Linked DNA regions of Homo sapiens: region 2 is linked to region 1. Evidence: promoter capture Hi-C in human tissues and cell types (Jung and others, 2019). All regions are on one chromosome and are shown on one strand. The core of a region is centred on a gene start or on the middle of the fragment in contact, and the rest is flanking DNA. Distances in the headings are between cores, read along the strand shown.

The links. Contacts are between HindIII fragments. The study calls those that stand out against the background at their distance.
Region 2: a fragment that was not itself captured here is called in contact with the fragment with the promoter of AIPL1 in region 1 in 1 of the 25 tissues and cell types used here (H1 embryonic stem cells).

The regions. Positions count from the first base shown.
Region 1 is chr17:6,433,871-6,439,752 of GRCh38, forward strand. AIPL1 (AIP like 1 HSP90 co-chaperone) reads right to left here and starts at 1,251. Exons shown (of 6, transcript NM_014336.5): 1 at 1,139-1,251; 2 at 49-228. The coding sequence starts at 1,234. It overlaps LOC107985017 (a long non-coding RNA gene), which reads right to left. Exons shown (of 3, transcript XR_001752776.2): 3 at 3,428-3,467. The HindIII fragment of the contact is 7,871 bases long and covers 1-4,095 here.
Region 2 is chr17:6,274,985-6,280,654 of GRCh38, forward strand. No RefSeq gene overlaps it. Among named protein-coding and RNA genes, the nearest start is that of AIPL1, 160 kb to the right of the region's middle. The HindIII fragment of the contact is 4,330 bases long and covers 35-4,364 here.

The sequences.
Region 1 (5,882 bases), core at 1-2,500:
GCCCAGAAAAGACTAGTCCCAGGAGACAGGCGCGCAGGGCCTACTTACGATGGTGTCGCACCAGAACTCGGCCACCTCGTGCACCCGCATGGAGGTAAGCAGGATCTCCCAGACCTCGAGCTTGAACATGTTTCCGATGATGATGTGCATGGGCTGGCCCACCTGCCGACTGTCGTCAATGACTGTCCGCTCCTCATCACATTTCATGGTGCGGAAATGAAAGATCACCTAGTCACCGAGACGGTGCACTCTGCTCTAGACACACTGTTCAAGGCCCGGCAGAAGCCACCCCCTTGCCACCGACACCCAGGGCTGTCCCCAGGGTCAGCTCACTCAGTTCACCCCATCAGATGCCTCAGACCCCTGGAGCACCTCCACCCTGCCTGCACCCCCCAGGGAGGAGGGACCCACCCCTCCCTACAGACCCCATTCCACTCCCCACAGCCCTGTGCGTCCAGAAATCCTTCCTCAAGTAAGCCCGAGTTCTTTTTTTTTTTTTTTTTTCTGAGACAGAGTCTCACTCTGTTGCCCAGGTTGGAGTGCAGTGGTATGATCTCGGCTCACTGCAACCTCCACCTCCTGGGCTCAAGTGATTCTCCTGCCTCAGTCTCCTGAGTATCTGAACTGGGATTACAGGCGCCCAGCACATCTGGCTAATTTTTGTATTTTCAGTAGAGATGGGGTTTCACATGTTGGTCAGGCTGGTCTCGAACTCTTGACCTCATGATCTGCCCATCTTGGCCTCCCAAAGTGCTGGGATTACAGGCGGGAGCCGCCTCGCCTGGCCAAAGCCCGAATTCTGTAGCCACAGACGCACCCTTCAGTCCAGGGAAGCCTAACAGACATTTGGGGACAAATACCAAGACTCCTCGGACTCCCTTTCTTCTCACTCAACATTTAGGGCCCCAGAAAATTCCCAAAAGCCCTTCCCCTCAGCCCATGCTAAAGTTGAATCTGCAAAGTACCAAAAATGCCCCCTGAATGGGTAAACGCTGGGAGCTCCCCGGAGGCCCAGCGCTGGGGCTGCCTGGCTGTTTTTTTGGCACAGCTGAAAGCTGTTTACAGTGCCTTGGGGCACACCTGGAATGTTGAAAGCTGCTGTGGGGGACCCTGTCTGCTCCGGAGGGGCCCCACTCACTCGGGATCCGGTGATGAAGTTTGGGAGCTCGCCCGTGCCCCCGTGCAGAATGGTTTTCTTGACCCCTTCCACGTTCAGGAGCAGAGCGGCATCCATGGCTGCAGGAGAAAGGGAGGTGTCCAGCACAGGCGGAGATAATCTCACCTCCGGGGAAGACACTTAGGCGGCTGAGACTCTGGGATTTACCCAGCCAGGAGGAGTGGGGGGAAGGGCAGACGGTGGGGGCGGTGACCTAGGCGCCCCGGCTTCTCATCAGAGCCACTCGGGCCGGGCCTGTGGTCCACAGGCAGCCTCGCCTCCTATCCCATCCACCTTTGCTTCCAGTGATTCTGGGCCCCTGCCCAGGGTTGTGCTAGATTTGGCTTTTTGTTCCACCCCAAGAAGGAAAAAGGTCCGCTGAGCTTTCTTAAAGAAGACAGGGGACCAGGCGCGGTGACTCACGCCTGTAATCCCAGCACTTTGGGAGGCCGAGGCGGGCAGATCACAAGGTCAAGAGATCGAGACCATCCTGGCTAATATGGTGAAACCCCATCTCTACTAAAAATACAAAAATTAGCCGGGGGTGGTGGCGGGCGCCTGTAGTTCCAGCTACTCGGGAGGCTGAAGCAGGAGAATCGCTTGAACCCGGGAGGCGGAGGTTGCAGTGAGCCAAGATAGCGCCACTGCACTCCAGCCTGGCGATGTGGAGAGAGGCCTGGAGGCCACTGAAGGGGAAAAGGAGGGGAGGCATGGGCTGGGCCCAGACTCTAAGTCCCCGAGGACCCCAGGCCAGCCGGGGTGACAGCTGCCCTTTGCCATCCAGCCACCTTTCTGCTTTCCCTGTTCCCCCTCCCCTCCCCAGAATCTGCCTTCAGGAGGCCCTGCGATGGTGGCCCAAGGCAAGAGGGGACAGGTTTCTGGCTTGGGAGAGAAGGAAGACGGAGAACGAAAGGCGGGGTGGGTTTGGGTAAAGTTGAGGCGCCCTCCGCAGCCCCGCTCCTGCCTCCCCTGCAAGGTCTGGCTGGGGGAAGGGTGGGTATCCCCTCCCCTCCCCTCCCCTCCCCTCCCCTTTGGAGGCCCTTAGCCCTGTGCCCTGGGAACCAGGCAGAGTTTATTGAGGGCATCAGGGACGCCCAGAAGGGCTGGGAAACATAAATGCGAAGACCTGGTGTTTGGCACCACCGTGTGGCCAGTTCAAGCTCCTACACCTCCGCACCCTGAGGGCACTGGACTCAGCTCCACGAAACCATTCTCTTCCTGACACCAGGCTCACCGGTTGCAGAGGGAAGGGGTGCAGGACTCTGCTACAGGGAGAGATAAAAACACGGGACTAAGGAGGCTGAAGTAGGTGGATCACCTGAGGTCAGGAGTTTTGTATTTTTAGTAGTCTGTACTAAAAATACAAAAATTACCCAGGCATGGTGGTGCGCACCTGTAATCCCAGCTACTCAGGAGGCTGAGGCAGGAGCCTCGCTTGAACCCGGGAGGCGGAGGTTGCAGTGAGCTGAGATCGTGCCACTGCACTCCAGCCTGAGCAACACAGCGAGACTCTGTCTCAAAAAAACAAAACAAAACAAAAAATGCTAGACTAGGCTGGGTGCAGTGGCTCATGGCTGTAATCCTAGGACTTTGGGAGCCAAGGCAGGTGGATCACCTCAGATCAGGAGTTAGAGACCAGCCTGGCCAACATGATGAATCCCCATCTCTACTAAAATTACAAAACTTAGTCGGATGTGGTGGTGGGCACCTGTAATCCCAGCTACTCAGGAGGTTGAGGCAGGAGAATCGCTTGAATCCAGGAGATGAAGGTTGCTGTGCACCAAGATCATGCTGCTGCACTCCAGCCTGGGGCACAGAGTGAGACTGTGTCAGAAGAAGAAGAAGAAGGAGAAGGAAGAGGAGGAGGAGGAGGAGGAGGGAAGAGGGAAGAGGGAAGAGGGAAGAAGAAGGAAGAAGAAGAAGAAGACTGGACTGAGCCAGATACAGCTAAGTTCAAAGGGCTGATCCTTTCCTATTTACTGACCTTGTTGCCTTGGATGTCTCTCGTTTTCTCTAACTGCATTTTCCCAACTGAAATGAGAAAATTGACCTCTCCTGCTCCTTCTCAGGGGAAGTTGGGAGGGCTGCAGCAGTGAATGGCACCCTGAAATCCGGCACTCATGAAAGTCTTGCTTCCCGTGAGGAGTCATTGGCATAGAGGAGACCAAACCTGGGCCAACTGGTCAGGCCCAGGGAATCCTGGCCAGATCCCCAAGGGTCCAGTCTCCATCCCTGGAAGGCAGAAGGCTGCTGAAAACCTTCCCCTTCTCTCTTCCATCCTTTCTCCAGCCACACGGCAACCTAGAGAGGTCTGCATGCATAGGTAAAATGGATACTTAGTAAAACTAATACAGGAATTATTAAGAAATAATTTTTAGGCAGATAGTAAGGGTAAAGGTTCTTGGTGGAAATTTTCCTGCAATAAAAAACAAGCCCCCAAACCATCTCTTTTCTAACAGAAAAGGCTGCTTAAAGGGCCAGGCTGGCAAACCTTGACATGCAAATGCTGGCCATTAGAAACTGGGTTCACTCATATGGAGATTCCTGCTGTCTTTTCCCTGTCACCAGGTGTACCGAGTGTCGTGGCCACCTCCAGATAACACCTTGTGTTCAGAACATCATAGCGACCCACATTTGCATATTAAAGGACTAAGGTGGGAAGGCCAGGTGTTTTGCGGGGTTTGTAAATGACACACCTGGTCAAACCAATCCCCTGGGCCCTATGGAAATCAGACACCACCTCCTCAGCCTCCTCATATAAGCAGCTACTTCCCACCACCCTCACCCTAAACAGGGGGTTTTCTCTTTGTTCAAATCCCCCCCCTCTGTCTCTGTATGGGGGGGCTATTCTCTTCTTCCTTCCTTCTTTCTTGCCTATTAAACTTTTCACTCCTTAAAACTACTCCACGTATGTTCGTGTTGTTAATCCTATTGGAGCAAGACCAAGAACCCTGGAGTTCCTCCAGTCATCAGAGCCGTATCAAAACTACAAAGGAAAATAAAAGTATTTATCATAAAAGTCTAAGGAGACAGGAAGAACACACTTGTCACTTGCGGGTGGCAAGTGTCTGCTTCTGGGATGCTGGCAGTGCTCACCCTTGACCTAGGTGATGGTTACATGGGTGTTGGCTTTATAAGTACAGTAAGTCCTCACTTAATGTCCTTTTAGGTTCTTGGAAACTGCAGTCTGAAATGAAAGGACATACATCAGGTCCTCAAATAACATCGTTTCAATCAATGTCATCATTTCATTATAATGTTGATGAGAAAAAAAGGTGGTTTCCTTATATGTCATTTCATTTAAAGTCAGTCTTCTTTTTTTTTTTTTTTTTCTGAGATGGAACTTTGCTCTTGTCACCCAGGCTGGAGTGCAATGGCGCGATCTTGACTCACTGCAACCTCCACCTCCTGGGTTCAAGTGATTCTCCTGCCTCAGCCTCCCAAGTAGCTGGGATTACAGGTGCCTGCCACTTCACCCAGCTATTTTTTTTTTTTTTTTTTTTTTTTTTTTTAGTGGATACGGAGTTTCATCACATTGGCCACTGGCCAGGCTGGTCTCAAACTCCTGACCTCAGGTGATCCACCCACCTTGGCCTCCCAAAGTGCTGGGATTACAGGCGTGAGCCACCACGCCCGGCCTAAAGTCAGTTTTCAAACACCTATTGACAGCATTAAGTAAGGACTCACTGTATTCATGACACTAGATTTTATGTCTTAGGCAGTTTTCTATCGGTGATATAATTCACAGTGAAAAGGATCCAATCATGTCTCTTCTCACACTTCTTAAAACTCTCCCACTGTTTCTGTTGTTTCCCTTTGTAGAGGGTCGAAGGGCACACACACATTGCAGAGATGTTTAAACAGTAGAACTGATAGATGTAGCCTGTAGCTGATTGGGGGATGTGGGGGCGAGAAGAAAAGGGGATGTTGAAGCCGATGCCAGGGGGGTTGGTTTCCCTGCTGAGAAGAATGAGGATTCACTCCTGGTCTGTGCCTGGAGTTGTGCCACAGGCTACAGACTGATGCCCCAGAAACCCTTTGCCCCCTGTCTTAGTTCATTTTCTGTGATTATAACTGAACACCACAGAATGCATAATTTATTTTTTTAAAAAAGACATTTATTTAGCTCATAGTTCTGGATGCTGGGAAATCCAAGAGCATGGTGCTGGCATCTGGTGAGGGCCTTCTTGCTGCATCATAACGTGGTGGAAGGCATCACATGGTGAGAGGACAAGAGCACGCACATCAGCTCAGGTCTCCATTCCTCTTCTTGTAAAGCCTCCAATCCTATCACAGGGTCCTACCCTGATAATATTATCTAATCCTAATGACCCTCCAAAGGTCCCACCCATAAATATCATCAACATACGAATTTGAGGATTCGGTTTCCAACAGATGAAATTTGGGGGACACATTAAAACCATAGCTGCTCCCAAACCAGTCTCCTCATGGACTTTATTAAAATGCCAATCTAATAACCTACTGCCCTCTTCAAATTCAGCAAAGAGTTGCCACCACCTTCAGGACAAATTTTAAGCTCCTTCTCTGGCCTACAGACCCTGTCTCTTGCCACCCCATCCCCTACCCTCAGCCCCTCATCTCAGCCCCACCCTTTTTGTCTAGGCTTTCCCCAGTCCTAACGCTTGGCAATGCTCCAGACTCCCAACCACTGGCCCACTAGCTCCTCACTTCAAACACCACACATTCAGGGAAGACTACCCTGACC
Region 2 (5,670 bases), core at 950-3,449, 160 kb before region 1:
CCCCTAGATCTCAGCCCTGTGATTGCCTCAGCTCCAGAAGGGATGCAGGACTGAGGTATGCCCCACTGGAGAGTTCAGTTGAGGCTTCGGGGAAGTAAAAAAAAAATGTTGGCTGGGCACAGTGGCCCACGCCTGTAATCCCAGCACTTTGGGAGGCAGATGGATCATGGGTTAGGAGTTCCAGAGCAGCCTGGCCAACATTGTGAAACCCTGTCTCTATTAAAAATACAAAAATTAGCCGGGCATAGTGGCATGCACCTGTAGTCCCAGCTACTCCAGAGGCTGAGGCAGGATAATTGCTTGAACCTGGGAGGCAGGGGTTGCAGTGAGCCGAGATCGTGCCACTGCATTCTAGCCTGGGCGACAGAGCAAGACTCTGTCTCAAAAAAAAAAAAAAGTCCTTTTGCCCAAATATTTCAAGATGAGAGGTTATAAAGTCTGCTGCTGCTACGCTAGTCCTGCTTCCAGTAAAGCCTAAGGCTAAAAACAGCTCAGGAGAAGGCAGACCTGAGAGCTGGAGAGGTAGAGCCCTGAAAGCATGGTGCCTAAAGCCATATCTAGGGGTGTTGCTACTTGGGGGTCTCTTGAGCCTCAAGCCGTTCCTGAGGCCTTGACTTCCAGCTCTGCTGTGCCTCACAGCATCCAAGGAGAGATTCTTATTCACCAGACAACCCTCTTCTCTGGACAGAGGCTCCTAGGAGATGCCAGAATTGTTAAGGCCATCTGGCCCTGTCTATGTGACCTTAAGTGGCTTGTTGCCCATCTCTGGGGCTCAGCCTGTCTTCTGTGCAAGGAAGGACGAGGACTTGATGGTCTCAAGGACACTTCCAGTTTTGACCTTCTACTTCCTAAGGGTATTTAATCTACAGGCAGACAAGGGATGGCCCAGCCTGCCCCACATCTGTTCGTGGTGAGCACAGCAGTTTCCAGAGAGAAGCCATTTGCCCAGGACCCAGCAGGAAGAGCAATAAAGAAATCCCTCAGCTTCCATATTCTAATTAAATCAGCACAAATTTAATTTGGATGTAATTTTTAAAACATGACCCATAAAAATATCCACAAGCACTGCTCTATTGGGCCTCCTGGAGGAAAGATGGCCTCAGAGGCCAACAAAAGGCCTGATTGGCGCTTTAATCAATAGGTATCTGCGAGGAGACAGTAGAAGGCTCCAGGGGATCTGTGTGTGCTCAGGAGGGCGTTCCTGTGAAACCAGGGATGCGAAGGGCACCAGGACAAGGTAGAGTCAAGAAGACACTGTGGGCTGGGAACGGTGACTCATGTCTGTAATCCCAGCACTTTGGGAGGCCAAGGCGGGTAGATCATGAGGTCAGGAGTTCAAGACCAGCCTTGCCAACATAATGAAACCCCGTCTCTGCTAAAAACACAAAAATTAGCCGGGCGTGGTGGCATGCGCCTGTAGTCCCAGCTGCTCGGGAGGCTGAGGCAGGAGAATCACTTGAATCCAGGAGGCAAAGTTTGCAGTGAACCGAGACCGTGCCATTGAACTCCCGCCTGGGCAACAGAGTGAGACTCCATCTCAAATAAATAAATAAATAAATAAATAAATAAATAAATAAATAAACAAAAAAACAAACAAACAAAGACACCACGAGGCCTTCTGTGATGCTTCAAGGCAAAGGAGGGGAAGAGACAACAGTTCAGGACCAACCTAAAGTGACAGCAGTGTAAGATCAGCCCGAAGTGGGCATGGATGACCATTCCAGAGGCTGGAAGATCGACAGGCTGCACAGTGGGGTCACTAGCTGGGGGCTTGTCGAGTCCCTTAATCCACCTAAGACTCAGTTTTCTTGTCTCTAAAATAGGAATTCTGATACCTGCCTTGTGCACCTCATAGAGTGGTTTTGGAACCAAGGCTGGGATGAAAGCCCCTTGGAAATGGTAAAGTCTCCTTCAAAGGCTAGAGGGCGCCAGGTCACCATCACCTCCTTATTAGTTGATCTTTTCCCAAAGGGGGCTTCAACGTTTCTACCCAGAGTTTATCCTAGAGGTAGCACAATGCAGTGGTCCAGTCTTGGCCTCCAATGGAGACCGCTTGGGTGAAAAGCCTGGCTCTGCCACTGTCTGGTGGTGGAGCCCCACACAAGCTTCTTAACTTCCCTTGGCCTCCCTTTCCTCATCTGTAAAATGGAGATGATGGACGTGATACTTACCTCCTAGGGATATTGGGATTTTAAAAATCCACTTGTGTGAAGTGCTAAGCTGTGGGCCTGCCCAAAAGCAGGTGTTTGTAATTACTGCAGTCGTGCCTGCCAGCCAGTTTCACTCCTCCTCCTCACTGGCACTGCTGCAATTCAGAACAGCCTTGCCCATGGATGCTCACCTGGACAGTGGGACCTTCCCACACCCCCTGCCTCCAGGGCCTCCTCTCCATCCCAGCCTCCTTGCCAGCTGCCAGAGGGTGGCTTACAAGGCCTGCTGCTTCCCTGGCCCCTTAGCATAGAGTCCTCCCTGCTGGGCACGGTACTCACAGCTTTTGCATAATCTGGCCCAAACACGCACCTCCAGCTTCACCTCCTTCCGCACCCACTCCATTCTCTAGCTGCTCTGAGCCGGCTTCCTGCTCCCTAAAGCCCATGTCCATCACATCTTTGTTCATTCACTTGCACCACACTCACATCTTAGAGTGTTTCCTCCCCATTACCTCTGTCACCCTGGAAAACTCCAAAGGTGCTTTCAACCCTGATTGCTCCATCTGCCACCCCAGTCTCTCGTGAGTGGCTCCTTGGCCTCCTTTTCCTGTTATATTCCCACCTTCTCCTGTTCACATACCACATTTTAGCAACACCAACTGCTCACAGGCTTCCCTGGTTTGGGCTGATGAGTAAGAGCTACTGTGGGTAGAGTTTCCCAGGGTGGGAATCCCAAGAGATGTGGAACCCTCAGTCCACACTCTTTAGCCCTAGAGGCCCAACAAGTTGGGACCAAAGGACTGAATCACCTTTTTCCTTCTAATGAGCCCTTTCCAGGGATTTTTTTTTTTTTCAGAGTTTCACTCTGTCACCCAGGCTGGAGTGCATTGGTGCAATCTCGGCTCACTGCAACCTCCGCCTCCCAGGTTCAAGCAACTCTCCTGCCTCAGCCTCCCGAGTAGCTGGGATTACAGATGCACACCACCAGGCCCAGCTAATTTTTGTATTTTTAGTAGAGATGGGGTTTCATCACGTTGGCCAGGCTGATCTTGAACTCCTGACCTCAAGTGATCCACCTGCCTCGGCCTCCCAAACTGCTGGGATTACAGGCGTGAGCCACAGTGCCCGGCCTCCAGCTTATTTTTATGCATATGCTTTCATTTTTAATTTTGTTGAGAAATTTTAAAGATACAGGAAAAACATAAAATCAGCACCCCATATGCACCTACTTATCCACCATGCAGAACTGACAATTTGTTCATGTTACTTGCTTTGTCTTCCTTTTTAGAAATTTATAAAATTTAAATCACATATGTATTATGACATGACAGCCAGACTCAAAGTCTCTTTCTTCCTCATTCCTAATTCTATTTTCTTTCATCCTGCCAAGGCAAACATGATCATGAATTAAATGTGCACTTCTCTGGTTCCATTTTTAAACTTTGGCATAGACACAGAAACCCCTGATAATTCGTAGTATTGCTTCGTGTGTGTTGATCAGCATAAGGGGTAGAATTTCAACATAACCTTCTTCTCTGCTTTCTGCAACACACTCTTCTCATTCAACATGATCGTCTTGAGATTTATCCATATTGCTGCGTGAATCTAGCACATTCCTTTAATTGCTTTTAATTTTATTTTATGAATAGACTCCATTTTATTCAGTTACTCCTCTGATTGCCTGAAATCTAAGTTGTTTCCCTTTTTTTTTTTGTCATTAATTAGTGCTGCAGTAAATACCCTTGCACACCCCTGGGGGGGTTTCTCTAAGGTGGAAACCTAGATGTGGAATTGCTGGTCTTAGCTTTCGTTGCATTTTCAGTGTGGCTGGATATTGCCAAACTCCTCTGCAAAGTGGCTGTGCTAATTCTCACTACTACCAGCAATGTCTGAGTGTGTCTATTTGCAGGAGGCCCTCATTTTATAGGAGAGAAACTGAGGCTCAGACCAGGCAATGGAATTGCCCAAGATCCTGCAGCTAGTCAGTGGTGGAGCCTCGATTAGGACTTGGGCTCTGGACACCACACAAAGGAATGAACTTCCAGAAACATCCTCCTTTTGCCCAGCCAGAGTCAAATTAATGACAAATCTTCCCTTGACCTCTGTCTGATCGGTCTTTGTCCAACCTTGGGAAACACTTGTATTAGTTTCTACTTTGCTAAGAAAGAAAAAAAAAACTCATAATAAAAGTTACTGGCTAATAACAAGTATCTTGTGTCATGGAAATTTTGCATATATTCTTCAACAATAAAAATGAAAACATGTTTTCCTTTAGTAAAGGAATTTCTGTTCTACTGCACTTATCACCCCTGGGAAGGAAATCTGATGTACCTTGACTCTATTTTATGACCATCTTGGAGAACAGCGATGTTGTCAATGGAAGCATGAAGAAACTATAGGAATAAAATTAGACAGAGATGGAGACAATGATACTAAAATAAATATCATTTGAAATTGGATTTTGTGGTAACAGCACAGCAGTCGTCACTGGGAGCGTGAAGGTCACGCGTCAGACATGGAGAACACCAGGCCCTGGTGCCAAAACATTTTGCTTCCAAAAGCATGGTCCTCCCTGGACTGCTTTCAAGGTTGCCTTTACCTGTAACACCTCCATCCACACAAGGCACGGTCAGTGCAGAAACACGTGACAAGGCTGACACACAAAGATGGGCGAGTCGGGGCACGGGGAAGGAAGTTCACCTGTCAGGCCAAACTCAGATCACAGCCGCCAGGTGAGCCACTGGGTGGTGCCAGAAAGGTTCCTGCAGATGTCCTGGCAGAGAAAGGTGGAGAAAGATCCCCGCCTAGTGGAACAGACAGTGGTCAGGAGATAAGGGAGATCCCAACACTAGTTACTTGTTTATTGCCTCTCCCATCTACCAGACTTTTTCTTTTCTTTTTCTTTTTCTTTTTCTTTTTCCTTTTTTTTTTTTTTTTTTTTTGTGAGATGGAGTTTTGCTCTGTCACCAGGCTGGAGTGCAGTGGTGCAATCTCAGCTCACTGCAACCTCCGCCTCCCGGGTTCAAGCTATTCTCCTGCCTCAGGCTCCCGAGTAGCTGGGACTATAGGCTCCTGCTGCCATGCCCAGCTAGTTTTTTGCATTTTAGTAGAGATGGGGTTTCACCATGTTTCCTAGGCTGGTCTCGATCTCCTGACGTCGTGATCCGCCCGCTTCAGCCTCCCAAAGTGCAGGCATTACAGGCGTGAGCCACCCACACTCAGCCTACCAGACTTTAAACTTCTTGACAGCTATAGCTTTTTCTCTGATTATCTTAATATTTCCAAAGTTTAGAAATGTTCCTAACACATAGTAGGTACTCAATAAATGTTAGTTTTTGAGTCAATGACTGAATGAATCCTGGGAACATCATCCCCAGCCAAGCCAGAGCTCAGCTTGTCCAGGCTGCAGCAGACTATCTGGCAGTAGATCACCCAACCCAGTCCAGCCTTGAAGAACCCCTCCCACCAGATTCCCCCTCCATGAAGCCTCTTCTAGTTGCTCCAGGGGGGCTCTCTAGTC